Regions from separate parts of the Homo sapiens genome. Here all the other regions are linked to region 2. The links are contacts of gene promoters, found by promoter capture Hi-C in blood cells and fetal thymus (Javierre and others, 2016). All regions are on one chromosome and are shown on one strand. The core of a region is centred on a gene start or on the middle of the fragment in contact, and the rest is flanking DNA. Distances in the headings are between cores, read along the strand shown.

Region 1 (4,218 bases), core at 1,526-4,025, 1.0 Mb before region 2:
TTATTTTAACAAAAGCAGCAGTCTTGCCCTGGATGTGATCGCACCTGCTCCATCCATGACAGGAGGAGAGTATGGTGGGGGCGCCAGGCACGGGCCCTCACTCCAGGCCTGAGCCCACCTGCCTGCTGGTGCACCACAGACGCGGGGAAGTGAGGCTACCTTCGGGGACTGTGGTGAGCTGAACAGTGATCCCCAAAGCCATGTCCACTCCCAGAGCCCCAGAACCTTGGAATGGGACCTTATTCGGAAACGGGGTCTTTGCAAACGTGTTTAATTAAGGATCTCGAGATAAGACCACCCTGGATTTAGGGTAGGCAGTAAATTCAATGACTGGTGTCCTTATAAAAAGAGAGGGGAACACAGAGAGACAGGGAAGAGGCCACATAAAGACAGAGGCAGAGACTGGAGCATGCGGCCACAAGCCAAGGAACAAGTGGGGCCCCAGGAGCGGGAGGCAGCGGGAGGACCCTCCCCTGAGCCTCTGGAGAGAGGCTGCGTGGCCACACCTTGATTTTAGACTTCTGGCCTCTAGAACTGGGAGAGAGTCCAGCTCTGCTGTTGCAAGCCTCCCAGTCTGTGGTCATGAGTTACAACGGCCCCAGGACACCAACACAGAAACCACCTCACACCTCTCCCTTCTCACACCTGTCCTGCCTCCCGCCGCGGCTGACAGACAAGACTTGGGCACCATGGCAGTGGGGTGGGGGGAGGAAAAGAAGGGTGCAGGTGACTCTGCCAAGTCATAGTGGGAGCATCTCAGGACAGGCCCCCAGACTGAGACCCCAAGACAAGACCAGGCTTGGGAGAGGTCATGGGTTCAGCTGCAGTTCCTTCCAGCAACAGCTGGAGCCCACCAAAATGTTCCTCATGAGCAAGTGGCTAAACGAAAGTAGCCTCAACACATCTGGGGCCTCTTGCCGCAGAAAAAAACAAAGGGGGCAGGCCGGGCGCAGTGGCCCACGCCGGGAATCCCAGCACTTTGGGAGGCCGAGGCCAGGAGTTCGAGACCAGCCTCGCCAACACGGCGAAACCCCGCCCCTACTAAAAATACAAAATTTAGCTGGGTGTGGTGGCGGGCGCCTGTAATCCCAGATTCTCAGGAGGCTGCGGCAGGAGGATCCCTTGAACCCAGGAGGCAGAGGTTGCAGTGAGCCGGGATCGCGCCGCTGCACTCCAGCCTGGGCGACAGAGAGAGTAACAAACAAAAACAACCAAAGGGGCGGATCGTATACATTGACGACATTTCCCAAGACTAAACAAGAAAAAGCGCCAGATACGTAATTGTATGCAGGATGCCATCCTGTCTACCTTAACACAACGTCACGCCCACGAATGGTTCTGAAACGCACAGGAAAAGTTCTGGGAAGGGCGCTGCTGTGGGGTGGGGCTGGGAGATGGGGTGGCTGCGGGAGACCCGCTTCGTTCTTTCCGGTTAGGCATCTTAAACGCTGCTGATGGGAACGGTCTCACGAGGTTCCAGCAGCCTGAACACTACAACGAAGGCGGCGCGGGCGCTGCACCCGCCAGGCCCTCCCTACCTGCTGCGGACGTCCTTGCTGCGGATGGGCGCCAGGAGGCTGAAGGAGGATTTGGCCGAGCGAAGGGAACAGTCGTCGCAGGCCAGGGGGCTCCGCGGCCGGCCGGGGCCCAGGCTGCTGTGGGCCCGCACCAGGAGCGGCTGCGCGCGGAGCTTGTAGTCTGCAAGATCCGAGTCGACCTTGTTTGCTGTCCTCAGGGAGTCGGAGGCGATGTCCAGGCTCAGGGCAGGCGGTGGGCGCGGGGGCAGCAGGCTGGGCAGCCTGGGCGAGCTCCCCGCCACGGCGGCGTCTCTGTGCGGGAGGTTCGGGGAGCTGCTGGCCACCCCAGAGAGAGGGTTACCCCCCGAGGACGGGCTCCCTCTCTCACTGCTCAGGACCCCGCGGGACTTGGGGATTTCCTGCAAGGAGGTGCTCAGGCAGGGCGGGGAGCAGCTGTGGGCGGGGGCCCCGGGGCCCTCGCTCTGCACTGAGCCCCTGGAGGGACTGGTCCCATTCCGGGCTTCCAGGTCCTCCTGGCTGCCTCGAAAACGCCTCCTCCTCCAGCCCTTGTCGTCCAGGGACAGGGCTCGCTCCAGTCGAGGCCTGGCGGGGGGCCGCGGGGCGATGGGTGCTGCTCGGGCTGGCGGGTCCTCGCCGCTGGGCGTGGCCGGAGTGCTGCAGGCAAGCGCGGGGCTCTCGGAGCCCGGAGCATCGGGTGGGGACCCCGCGCGCTGGGCCGGCGGAGCGCCGGGAAGCTGTCCTTGGAGCGTCCTCCCTTCCGGCGGCTGCGGGGCCGGCTCGGAGGGCCGCAGATTCTCCGCCTTGGACGGCATGGACGGTCTCTCCCGGGGCAGGCCTCGGCGCGAGGCCGCAGGCAGCGCGAGGGGTCACGGGTGCCGGGTCCGGGGTCGCCGGCGCAGCGAGGAGCAGAAACGCCGCTGCGGCTCCCGCTTGGGCCGGGGATGGTCGCGGAGGGGCGGGGGCGGCTGCCGCATGGCCCGGGCCCCGAGTCCCGCCAGCCCCTCGGGGCTCCCAGACGCCGTTCCCAGGGCGGTCCGCAGGCAAGGCCTGGGGGAACAGGCGGCTGGGCGCCTGTCGCGGGGGAGGTTCGACCCCGACGGGGACGCCGCTCGGGGAGAGGGGTGGGAAGCGGGCACCCCTGGCTGGGCTCGCAGACTCCGAAGTCGACCCGGTACTCGCGGAGGCCCGGCCGCCCAGAAGCGGAGTCAGCCCGGCCGGGACCCAGCAACCGCCGCCGCGGGGCCGCGCCCGGTCCCCGCCCCGCGCCCCGGCCCCGCCCACAGCGGCCCCTGGCGGCCGGAGGACTGCGCCGCACCGGACCCGGACGGGTCTCCCACGCCCCTCCCAACCCGGCAGCCCCGCAGTCCGGCAGGTCCCAGCGAGGCAGGTGCAGGTCCCCGGAGAGGACCTGGGTGCGGTCCAGGACAGCGCCGAGGCCTGCGGACACCTGCACTCACTCGCTTCCAGCAAACCAAAGGGAACCACAGGTGAAGGTGCTTGAAGGAGCGCAAAATATTTTATTCAACAATTTGCAATGTAACAATTCTCATTTAGGAAAAATAGCCGCTCCCGCCTGGAGGAAGCTTCTTGAATCAAAAGTCGTGGCAGTCGACCCCAGAACAGCGGGCAGAGCCGACCGGAAGAGGTCCCAGGATTCACACGAGCTGACCGAGGGACAGAGAGGGCTGCCCCGTCACAGGGACTGGCCTTTCTCCAAGTGACAAGGACAAATGGATCCAGCGGGACACGCCTGTGGAACATTTTGGAAAACATCCTGGGTGGTCTGGGCTAAATGATCAAGTGAAACAGAAAGCCAGGAAGGATCTGTGCTAATTCCACATTCTACAATTTCTACACTTAAATTTAAAACACCAAACAGTTTGTATTCCTCCAGCAGAACCTACAGAAATTATCTACTGATTTTTATTAGTATTTAAATCTTTTCTTCAGTCTCTTTAGACTTGACAAGAATACGAAGAGTTTCAGAACAGTCAGAGAAGCCTTAAAGCTTTGCATCAGTGAGAGGAGGCCCGTCTCTGAGTTGAACAGGGTTGAGTCCACCAGGAGCTACTCAAAGTCTCAGTGTGGCAAAACTCGGGGCAGAAATACTAAGTTCCAGAGCTGCTGTCAAGAAACTGTGTTAAGATACTCTCCCCAAGTGCTACCAACCTCTGAACCAACGTCCCCCAGGGGAGAAAGTGGGTCATGTGGATTGTACCACGAAAAGTGCTCACGGAAAGTGCAGCCTTTTAGAGAAGTGCATCCAGCTTCCTTAACAGTGAGTCTAACCGTGCTCCTACACACGAAATGAAGCCCAAATCAAACATCACACGGTCAGTTTTCAACCTGGATGACCACCCTGAGCCATCATGTCAGACAGCCGGCTCTCTGGGGCTCCTTCCCAGTGACTGGGCCACACGGTGGGCAGTCCCCAGCGCTTTGGGTACACAAAATCACCCATGGTCCTCATCAGGCCACAGAAAGTAAAGTGAGGCTGGAAGCGTCTTTGCAACAGGAAAGAAATTCACTGCAGTAACTAAGGCCTCTCTCAAAAACCGTGAACTAATGCCGAAGGAACCCCACGGCTCCTCGGAGGCGCTGATTGAGAACACAGCGCCCTCCACTCATTCAGCCAGGTTCAAACACGGCGAGGGCCCAGATGGTGCAGAGCAGGGGTTGG
Region 2 (3,781 bases), core at 1,282-3,781:
GACCCCCTCGGATGGGACTCGCGGAGCTGCCCCCACCATGTGATGGGGCCACCCTGTGTCCCCACCCCTCGGTCCTGCCTCTCCCGTGCCACCCTCCCCAGGAGCAGCCACAGCTCCAGCCTGCACTGGGGGCCCAGGGCTCTGCCTCCTCTCTGCGGCCCCCACCCCAGGCACTCCTAGGGTGGGGGTTTCTCTCTGGAGCCCTGAGGGGACTGTTGCCGAGGGGCTGTGGGTGAACCCAGGGTGAGGCCAGCCATCCTAGGAAGCCGAGTGTGAGGCTTCTTAACAACATCGGTTTCTCTGGAAATCCAGCCCAAGGCTTCCCTAATCTGACTCTGCACCTTCTTAGCTGGTGCCAGATGGCGCCTGGTCGGGAGGTGGACCCAGGGATGCCATCTGAGGGGCCTGGGCTTCTCTAGCCCTGTGGCCGAGGTGTCCACCTCCTCCTCTGCCCAAACGCCCAGCAAGGGTCTCAGCTCTCAAACTACCCCAGGCCGACCCTGTGCCCCATACAGCCCCACTTCACACGGGTACCACTGCCAAAGGAGTGGTCAAAGCCAGAGGCTGCCTGCCAAGGTCCCGGCACCTGAACCCCATGTGACCGTGTCCTATCGTGTTCCCCCGGGAAACGTTGCACCCACACTGAGTGGCAGGCGCGGGTGCTGCCCTGGTCCTGACCTGGGGCTCCTGGGCACGTGGAAAGTGGGACACGCTGTGGGGTCCTCACGCAATTCTGTATGTCCGGGGGATATAAGCCCATTTTAAGGAGGGTAGATGACAGAGGCTCAGAGAGGACAGGAGGCCGGTCCAGCCCAGACAGGGCCCAGCCTGTGTCCCCAACCAGCACCCAGGCCATAGGCCACCTCATAGGGACAAACAGGTGACAGGGGCCAGGAACACAGGGACTCCACACCCAGAAGATGTAGCCACCTGAGACCCCCAGGCCTGAGCCTCCAGGTAGGCAAAGAGGTTGGGGCAACCTCTCCCACACTCAAAAGACCCCCAAGACCAGAACAGCCTCCCAGATCAGAACAGCTCCTCAGACCAGGAAAGCGCCCCCCAGACCAGAACAGCCCCCCCGAGACCAGGACAGTGCCCCCAGACCAGGAGAGCCCCCCAGACCAGGACACCCCCTCAGACAGAACAGTCCCCCAGACCAGGACAGCCCCCCAGACCAGGACAGCCCCCCCCAGACCAGGAGAGCCCCCCAGACCAGGACACCCCCTCAGACAGAACAGTCCCCCAGACCAGGACAGCCCCCCCAGACCAGGACAGCCCCCCAGACCAGGACAGCCCCCCCAGACCAGGACAGCCCCCCCAGACCAGGAGAGTCCCCCAGGCCAGGACATCCCCTCACACAGAACAGTCCCTGAGACCAGGACAGCCCCCCCAGACCAGGACACCCCCTCACACAGAACAGACTCCCAGATCAGGACAGCCCCCCAGACCAGGACAGCCCCCCAGACCAGGACAGCCCCCGCCAGACCAGGACAGCCCCCCCCAGACCAGGAGAGCCCCCCAGACCAGGACACCCCCTCACACAGAACAGATTCCCAGACCAGGACAGCCCCCAGACCAGGACAGCCCCCCCCAGACCAGGACAGCCCCCCAGACCAGGACAGCCCCCCCCCAGACCAGGAGAGCCCCCCAGGCCAGGACACCCCCTCAGACAGAACAGTCCCCCAGACCAGGACAGCCCCCCAGACCAGGACAGCCCCCCCCAGACCAGGAGAGCCCCCCAGACCAGGACACCCCCTCAGACAGAACAGTCCCCCAGACCAGGACAGCCCCCCCAGACCAGGACAGCCCCCCAGACCAGGACAGCCCCCCCAGACCAGGACAGCCCCCCAGACCAGGACAGCCCCCCCCAGACCAGGACAGCCCCCCCAGACCAGGACAGCCCCCCAGACCAGGACAGCCCCCCCAGACCAGGACACCCCCTCAGACAGAACAGTCCCCCAGACCAGGACAGCCCCCCCAGACCAGGACAGCCCCCCAGACCAGGACAGCCCCCCCAGACCAGGACAGCCCCCCAGACCAGGACAGCCCCCCCCAGACCAGGACAGCCCCCCAGACCAGGACAGCCCCCCAGACCAGGACAGCCCCCCCAGACCAGGACACCCCCTCAGACAGAACAGTCCCCCAGACCAGGACAGCCCCCCCAGACCAGGACAGCCCCCCAGACCAGGACAGCCCCCCCAGACCAGGACAGCCCCCCAGACCAGGACAGCCCCCCAGACCAGGACAGCCCCCCAGACCAGGACAGCCCCCCCAGACCAGGACACCCCCTCAGACAGAACAGTCCCCCAGACCAGGACAGCCCCCCCAGACCAGGACAGCCCCCCAGACCAGGACAGCCCCCCCAGACCAGGACAGCCCCCCAGACCAGGACAGCCCCCCAGACCAGGACAGCCCCCCAGACCAGGACAGCCCCCCCAGGACATCCCTTTGGACCCTCACCTGGGCTGGCTGCCCACTTCCCGGAGCGGCAAGGAGGAAGCTGTGCTTAGACGCTTCTGTGTCCGCGCACCTGGCGTCCAGCCTCTCCCTGCCCCTGGGTCCAGGACAGCTGGGGTGGGCGGGGCAGGGCGGTGACAGCCTCGGGCGATGCGCTGTGCACCTGGCTCCAGGGCCCGCAGGCTGAGGCCAGCGCCCAAGGTCGCCCCGCCCACTCCACCCTCGGGTCCCCCGCCCAGGGTCTCCCCGCATCTCCCACCCGCGGGTCTGTCTCGGTGCCCAGGGTCGCCCCGCCCCCGGGGGGGTGGGAGGCAGGAGAGGGAAGCTGAGGAGGAGCCTGGAGCTGCGAGGGGCAGAACTCCGGGACCCCGCCCCCCACGGCCCGCAGCCGCGCTCCTGACCCCGGCCCGGACTTTACCCCCCGTGCCGCCCGGCCCGGGCAGGTCGGAGTCAGGTGACCCCGAAGGTCCAGGCCCGGGGCGGGGGCGGAAGCGCCTGCAGCCCCGCGGCGCCCGTCGTTTTCCATTTGCAGCCACTCTGCCTTTCCCGCTCGCCGTGGGTCCCGGGGCCGCCGCCGTCGGGGTCCGGGCCTCTGAAGCGGGGCGGGGCTGGGGGAGGCGCGGAGCCAGGGCCGGGCTGGGTGGGGCTGGGGGTGTTGGGGGGCGGGGAATAGGGTGGGGGAATGCGGGGGGGCGGTGAATTCCTTTCTGTGTGAGATCCAAGAACCCTCTTGGGGTCTCAATCGGGACTCTCTTTACTGGTAGCATATTTGGTGTCATGTGTGTGCATTTTTGTGCTTTTTCTTGGTGATTTCACTGTTTATAATGGCGTCTCAGCATAGTGCAGAAATGCAAGAAGGCTGAGATGCACTTTACAGAGAAAACACACATTGGATAAGCTTCATTCGTGCAAGAGTTAGCGCTGTTGGCCATGAGTTCAATGTTAGTGATACAATACATATTAAGTAAGGTGCCCTTAAACAAAAATACACATAAAAGAAGGTTTTATTAATATATTGATCATTTAACAAAAATGTGACCAGAAGCTTGCAGGAACAGAACTTTGCATTTCCCTTAGGAGCAATAGTTTAGCATATTCTTTAATTCAGTGTTTGCAGCAACTTTATACACTAGCTGCCATGGGTCATAAGAGTCAAATGTGTTTGTTGAGGATTTTTGCAGTTGTGTTCAACAAAGTTGCATAGTTTTCTTTTTTAGTCCTGGTTTCTGTATGGGGATAATGCTGGGCTTATAAAATGAGTCTGGGAAGTTGTCCTTTTTTTTTTTTTTTTTTGAGATGGAGTCTCGCTCTGTCACCCAGGCTA
Region 3 (3,740 bases), core at 1,218-3,717, 1.0 Mb before region 2:
AAAGCTCCCCTGGGGAGCTTTAAAACGACCCAAGCCACTCCACTGCACACACCCAGCTCCCTGGTGTGAGGTCAACCTGTGCTAGGAGCTCTCAAAGCTCCTCAGGTGGCCAGGTGTGGTGGCTCACGCCTGTACCCCAGCACTGTGGGAGGTCAAGGCGGGCGGATCACGAGGTCAGGAGACTGAGACCATCCTGGCTAACACGGTGAAACCTCATCTCTACTAAAAATACAAAAAATTAGCCAGGCGTGGTGGTGAGCGCCTGTAGTCCCAGCTACTCGGGAGGCTGAGGCAGGAGAATGGCGTGAACCTGGGAGGTGGAGCTTGCAGTGAGCCGAGATCGTGCCACTGTACTCCAGCCTGGGCGACAGAGCGAGACTCTGTCTCAAAAAACAACAACAACAACCAGCTCCTCAGGTGCTGCAACGCTGGGGACCCAGTGCCCCCTGACCCTCTTCCCGACTTTCCTACCTAGGTAGCCTAAATAACGCCCACTTTTCCCTTCTCCCTCTTGCCACCGCCTTCCCACCCTCCGGGGACTTAAGCAGCCACACTCGACCCTCCCAGCTGTGAGCCCCATGTAAAGCTGGCTCCTGTGGCCCCAGCCCCCCAGGTGGGGCTTCCCCGCTCCCTGATGTCACCTCGCTGCTACTCTAGGATCAAGACTGAACCCTTGAAATCCCACCCCCACCTGCTCTTTTGGGCTCCAGCTACACCACATAGCCAGTCACATTGACAGTCCCACCAGACACGTGCCTGGCACTGTGTTGGATGGAGACAAGAAGAAAAGGTTGCTGAACTACTCTACCTCCAAAATGTGTCCCGTGGGCTCCTGACGGGCTCTGCTTAGAACATTTCCCCTTTCCATAGCCAAAATCTGCAAAGAAACAATGTCACCCACCATGCTGGCAGGAAGTCTTTATGACCTCACATTTGGTTTTTTTCTTTTGCACATGGAGTCTCCACTGCAGTGGTTCTCACAGTCTAGAGAACTTTTTTTTTTTTTTTGAGACGGAGTCTTGCTCTGTCGCCCAAGCTGGAGTGCAGTGGTGCGATCTCGGCTCCCTGCAAGCTCCGCCTCCTGGGTTCACGCCATTCTCCTGCCTCATCCTCCCGAGTAGCTGGGACTACAGGCACCTGCCACCACGCCCGGCTAATTTTTTTGTATTTTTTGTAGAGACGGGTTTTCACCCTGTTAGCCAGGATGGTCTCAATCTCCTGACCTCATGATCCGCCTGCCTCGGCCTCCCAAAGTGCTGGGATTACAGGCGTAAGCCACTGCGCCCGGTCAGCCGAGAAAACTTTAAAAAAAACACAAGCTCCCAGACTTGTGACCCTGGAGATGGCCTGACTTGCAGACTGGCCCTGGTGTCCGTGGTCTGAAAGCGGCTCCTCAGCAGATTTTGAAGCCCAGCCGGGGCAAGCGCGTCCTCTTGTCTTGTGACAACCCCCGAATGTCCTCAGATCCTGGCATAACCACACAAACACTCCTGCACACCCCGGGCACCCAGCAGCACTTCTGCTTGGGTAGAACGAGGACGAACCAGATCTGGCCACTGCCCGGCTGTGGAGGCAGATGGAATGCTCCAGCTCGGTTTCCAATCACTGCCCACTAGGTGAAGGCACCCCGACTCCAGCCCCACGAGGAAAGCGGGCGGGCTCCTGTGCTCCCCGGGCACTAACCATCCTGTACTGGAACTGTCTGTCTTGGGGGAGGTCTCCCCGCAACCAGACTGTGAGCTCCTAGCAGGGGACTCCGCCTTTGAATTCCGAGTGCCTGGCACGCAGTGAGCGCTCTGCACATTGATGGGTCAATGGACGAGCTCGTGCTGCAGCGGAGGTGCCACACGTGGCGCGGGAACTGGAAGCGTCCCCGGGGCCGGCGCCCTCGTCTCTCACCTGTGTCTCCCACGGAAGCCAGCACCGGGCTGGGCACATAGCACATAAAGGCCGGCCGAATGCCGAAGAAGGGGGAGTCCAGGTCCCTGCCATGGGGGCGCTCACAATTTAGCTGGGGGAGACAAGACCGGCGCTCATAGAACGCTGGAGCTGGAAGCAACGACAACAGCGACTTTACTGCGTGCCGGGGCGGCCGCCGCCCACCTGGACCGCTGGACTCGGCCCCTGCCCCGCTCACCGTCGGGAATGGCGAGGCTCCGGGCTCGGGACAGCGGGGTGGCGCCCGGGCGGCGCTGGTAGCCCGACATCGCCGCCGGCCCGGCGGGGCACGACCTGCCTAGCCCGGCAGCGGCGGCTCCATGGCCCCGGCTCCGCCCGTGCCGCGGCCCGCGTCGCCCGCCCCCGTCGCCCGCCCCCGTCGCCCGCCGCTCGGCCGCCCCCGCGCCTCCGAGCCTCTCGCCGCTGCTTCCGCTCCGAGCACCGAAAGCGCGTGCCTGAACGCCTTGGGCCGTCGGCGAGGGGGAGGGGAAGCCGTGGGCGGAAGCGGAAGTGACGACTGAAGCGGGGCGGAGACGCAAGATGGCGGCTGTGGTGCTGGCGGCGACGCGGTTGCTGCGGGGCTCGGGTTCTTGGGGCTGTTCGCGGCTGAGGTGAGCCAAAGGCGAACCAGGCTTCGGCCTGGGGCGGGGGCGGCTCGAGTCTTTCTGGACGCTCCGTCTTCGGTTTCTACAGGTGACATGGCGCCCGTGGGACGGGCTCGCACTTCGGGACACTGGTGTCCCCGAGGCGACGGGGGCCCTGCCTTGCTTTGCGCCTCGAGCCCGGGGACGCAGTCCCATCTGTCTCTCCTCTCCCCGGCTGCTGGGTCCTCTCCCCCCCTCACTTCCCGGGTCGACGGGCCTTCTCCGAGGCCATGCCTCATATTTGCCCCCGCGCTTCACCTACCGCGTGCTCCTTCAGGAGGCTGAGCCGGTGGGGGCCCAGCTCTGTTAGACCCGCAGGGTTCTGACACCAGGGTCCAGGCTCTCGGTTGCTGCGGTCTGTCCGTTGATCTCTGACGTTTAAGAACCCTTTCCGTACCCACCGCTCCTCCCACCCAAGTGACCGGGCCTGCCTTTCCCCACGCTGGAACTTTGTTCCGACAGCACAGGCGTCGCCCCTCCCCACACAACGAGCGCCGTTTCAGGGGTGCGGAGGTGCTGCCTCCAGGAGATGGATACAGGCTGGAGCGTAAACAAAATATCGGCAGTCGCGTAAATGCTTTGGAGTAAACAAGCAGCCTTTCATGATAGAAAATAGCAGGAAAGACTAGACTGGTGAGGGATAGTCCTCCATCAGGGTGACATTTAAGGGAAGAGCTGAAGAATGAAAGAAGGGGTAGGCATGGGCAAAGGGCAAGCCCTGGAACGGTGAAGAAGCTTTGGGGTTGATGAGTCAAATGTGTTCCAGGAATTGACAAGAATCAGTGTGACCAGGACCTATGGGAGTGTGGGGGTTCAAGAGATGAGTTTGGAGAGGGAGACAGAGGCCAAGTCACACCCCGCCTTCGGACCAGGTTAATAAGGGATATGGCTTTTATCCAAGACTTCGGTGGTGCTGTTGGAGGGCAGAGCTGTTAAGTGCTTTATGTGTACAAACTGCACTTAGAGTGAGTTACTGTTAATAAGCCCTGTTTTTACAGAGATAGCAACTAAGACCCAAAGGACGGAACCAGCTTGCTCCAGGTCCCGTGGCTGAGCCTTTGTTGTCAGCCTCTGCTTTGTCTTCCAAAGTCTGTAGAAATAAGTCCTGTAGAAAGGCAGATGCTCACTTTTAACCCAGACAAAACATAACTAACCGCA

What was found. The method cuts DNA at HindIII sites, captures the fragments that hold promoters and counts their contacts. A CHiCAGO score of 5 or more calls a contact.
Region 1: a contact is called between the fragment with the promoter of INPP5E here and the fragment with the promoter of ENTPD8 in region 2, in 1 of 17 cell types (total CD4 T cells). The highest score is 7.4, in total CD4 T cells.
Region 3: a contact is called between the fragment with the promoter of PMPCA here and the fragment with the promoter of ENTPD8 in region 2, in 1 of 17 cell types (erythroblasts). The highest score is 5.6, in erythroblasts.

Annotation. Positions count from the first base shown.
Region 1 is chr9:136,437,070-136,441,287 of GRCh38, forward strand. INPP5E (inositol polyphosphate-5-phosphatase E) reads right to left here and starts at 2,776. Exons shown (of 10, transcript NM_019892.6): 1 at 1,539-2,776. The coding sequence starts at 2,350. SEC16A (SEC16 homolog A, endoplasmic reticulum export factor) reads right to left here. Exons shown (of 32, transcript NM_014866.2): 32 at 3,036-4,218. RefSeq lists enhancers at 980-1,613, 1,555-1,664, 1,614-2,248, 2,249-2,882 and silencers at 1,955-2,444, 2,505-2,684, 2,735-2,934. The HindIII fragment of the contact is 4,062 bases long and covers 1-3,119 here.
Region 2 is chr9:137,438,826-137,442,606 of GRCh38, forward strand. ENTPD8 (ectonucleoside triphosphate diphosphohydrolase 8) reads right to left here and starts at 2,532. Exons shown (of 10, transcript NM_001033113.2): 1 at 2,461-2,532. RefSeq lists a silencer at 2,392-2,686. The HindIII fragment of the contact is 13,084 bases long and covers 1-3,353 here.
Region 3 is chr9:136,408,191-136,411,930 of GRCh38, forward strand. It overlaps PMPCA (peptidase, mitochondrial processing subunit alpha), which reads left to right and starts at 2,468. Exons shown (of 13, transcript NM_015160.3): 1 at 2,468-2,549. The coding sequence starts at 2,479. ENTR1 (endosome associated trafficking regulator 1) reads right to left here and starts at 2,424. Exons shown (of 10, transcript NM_001039707.2): 1 at 2,138-2,424; 2 at 1,900-2,049; 3 at 809-877. The coding sequence starts at 2,207. RefSeq lists enhancers at 1,527-1,686, 2,537-2,626, 2,657-2,706 and silencers at 2,047-2,096, 2,237-2,326. The HindIII fragment of the contact is 5,612 bases long and covers 1-3,315 here.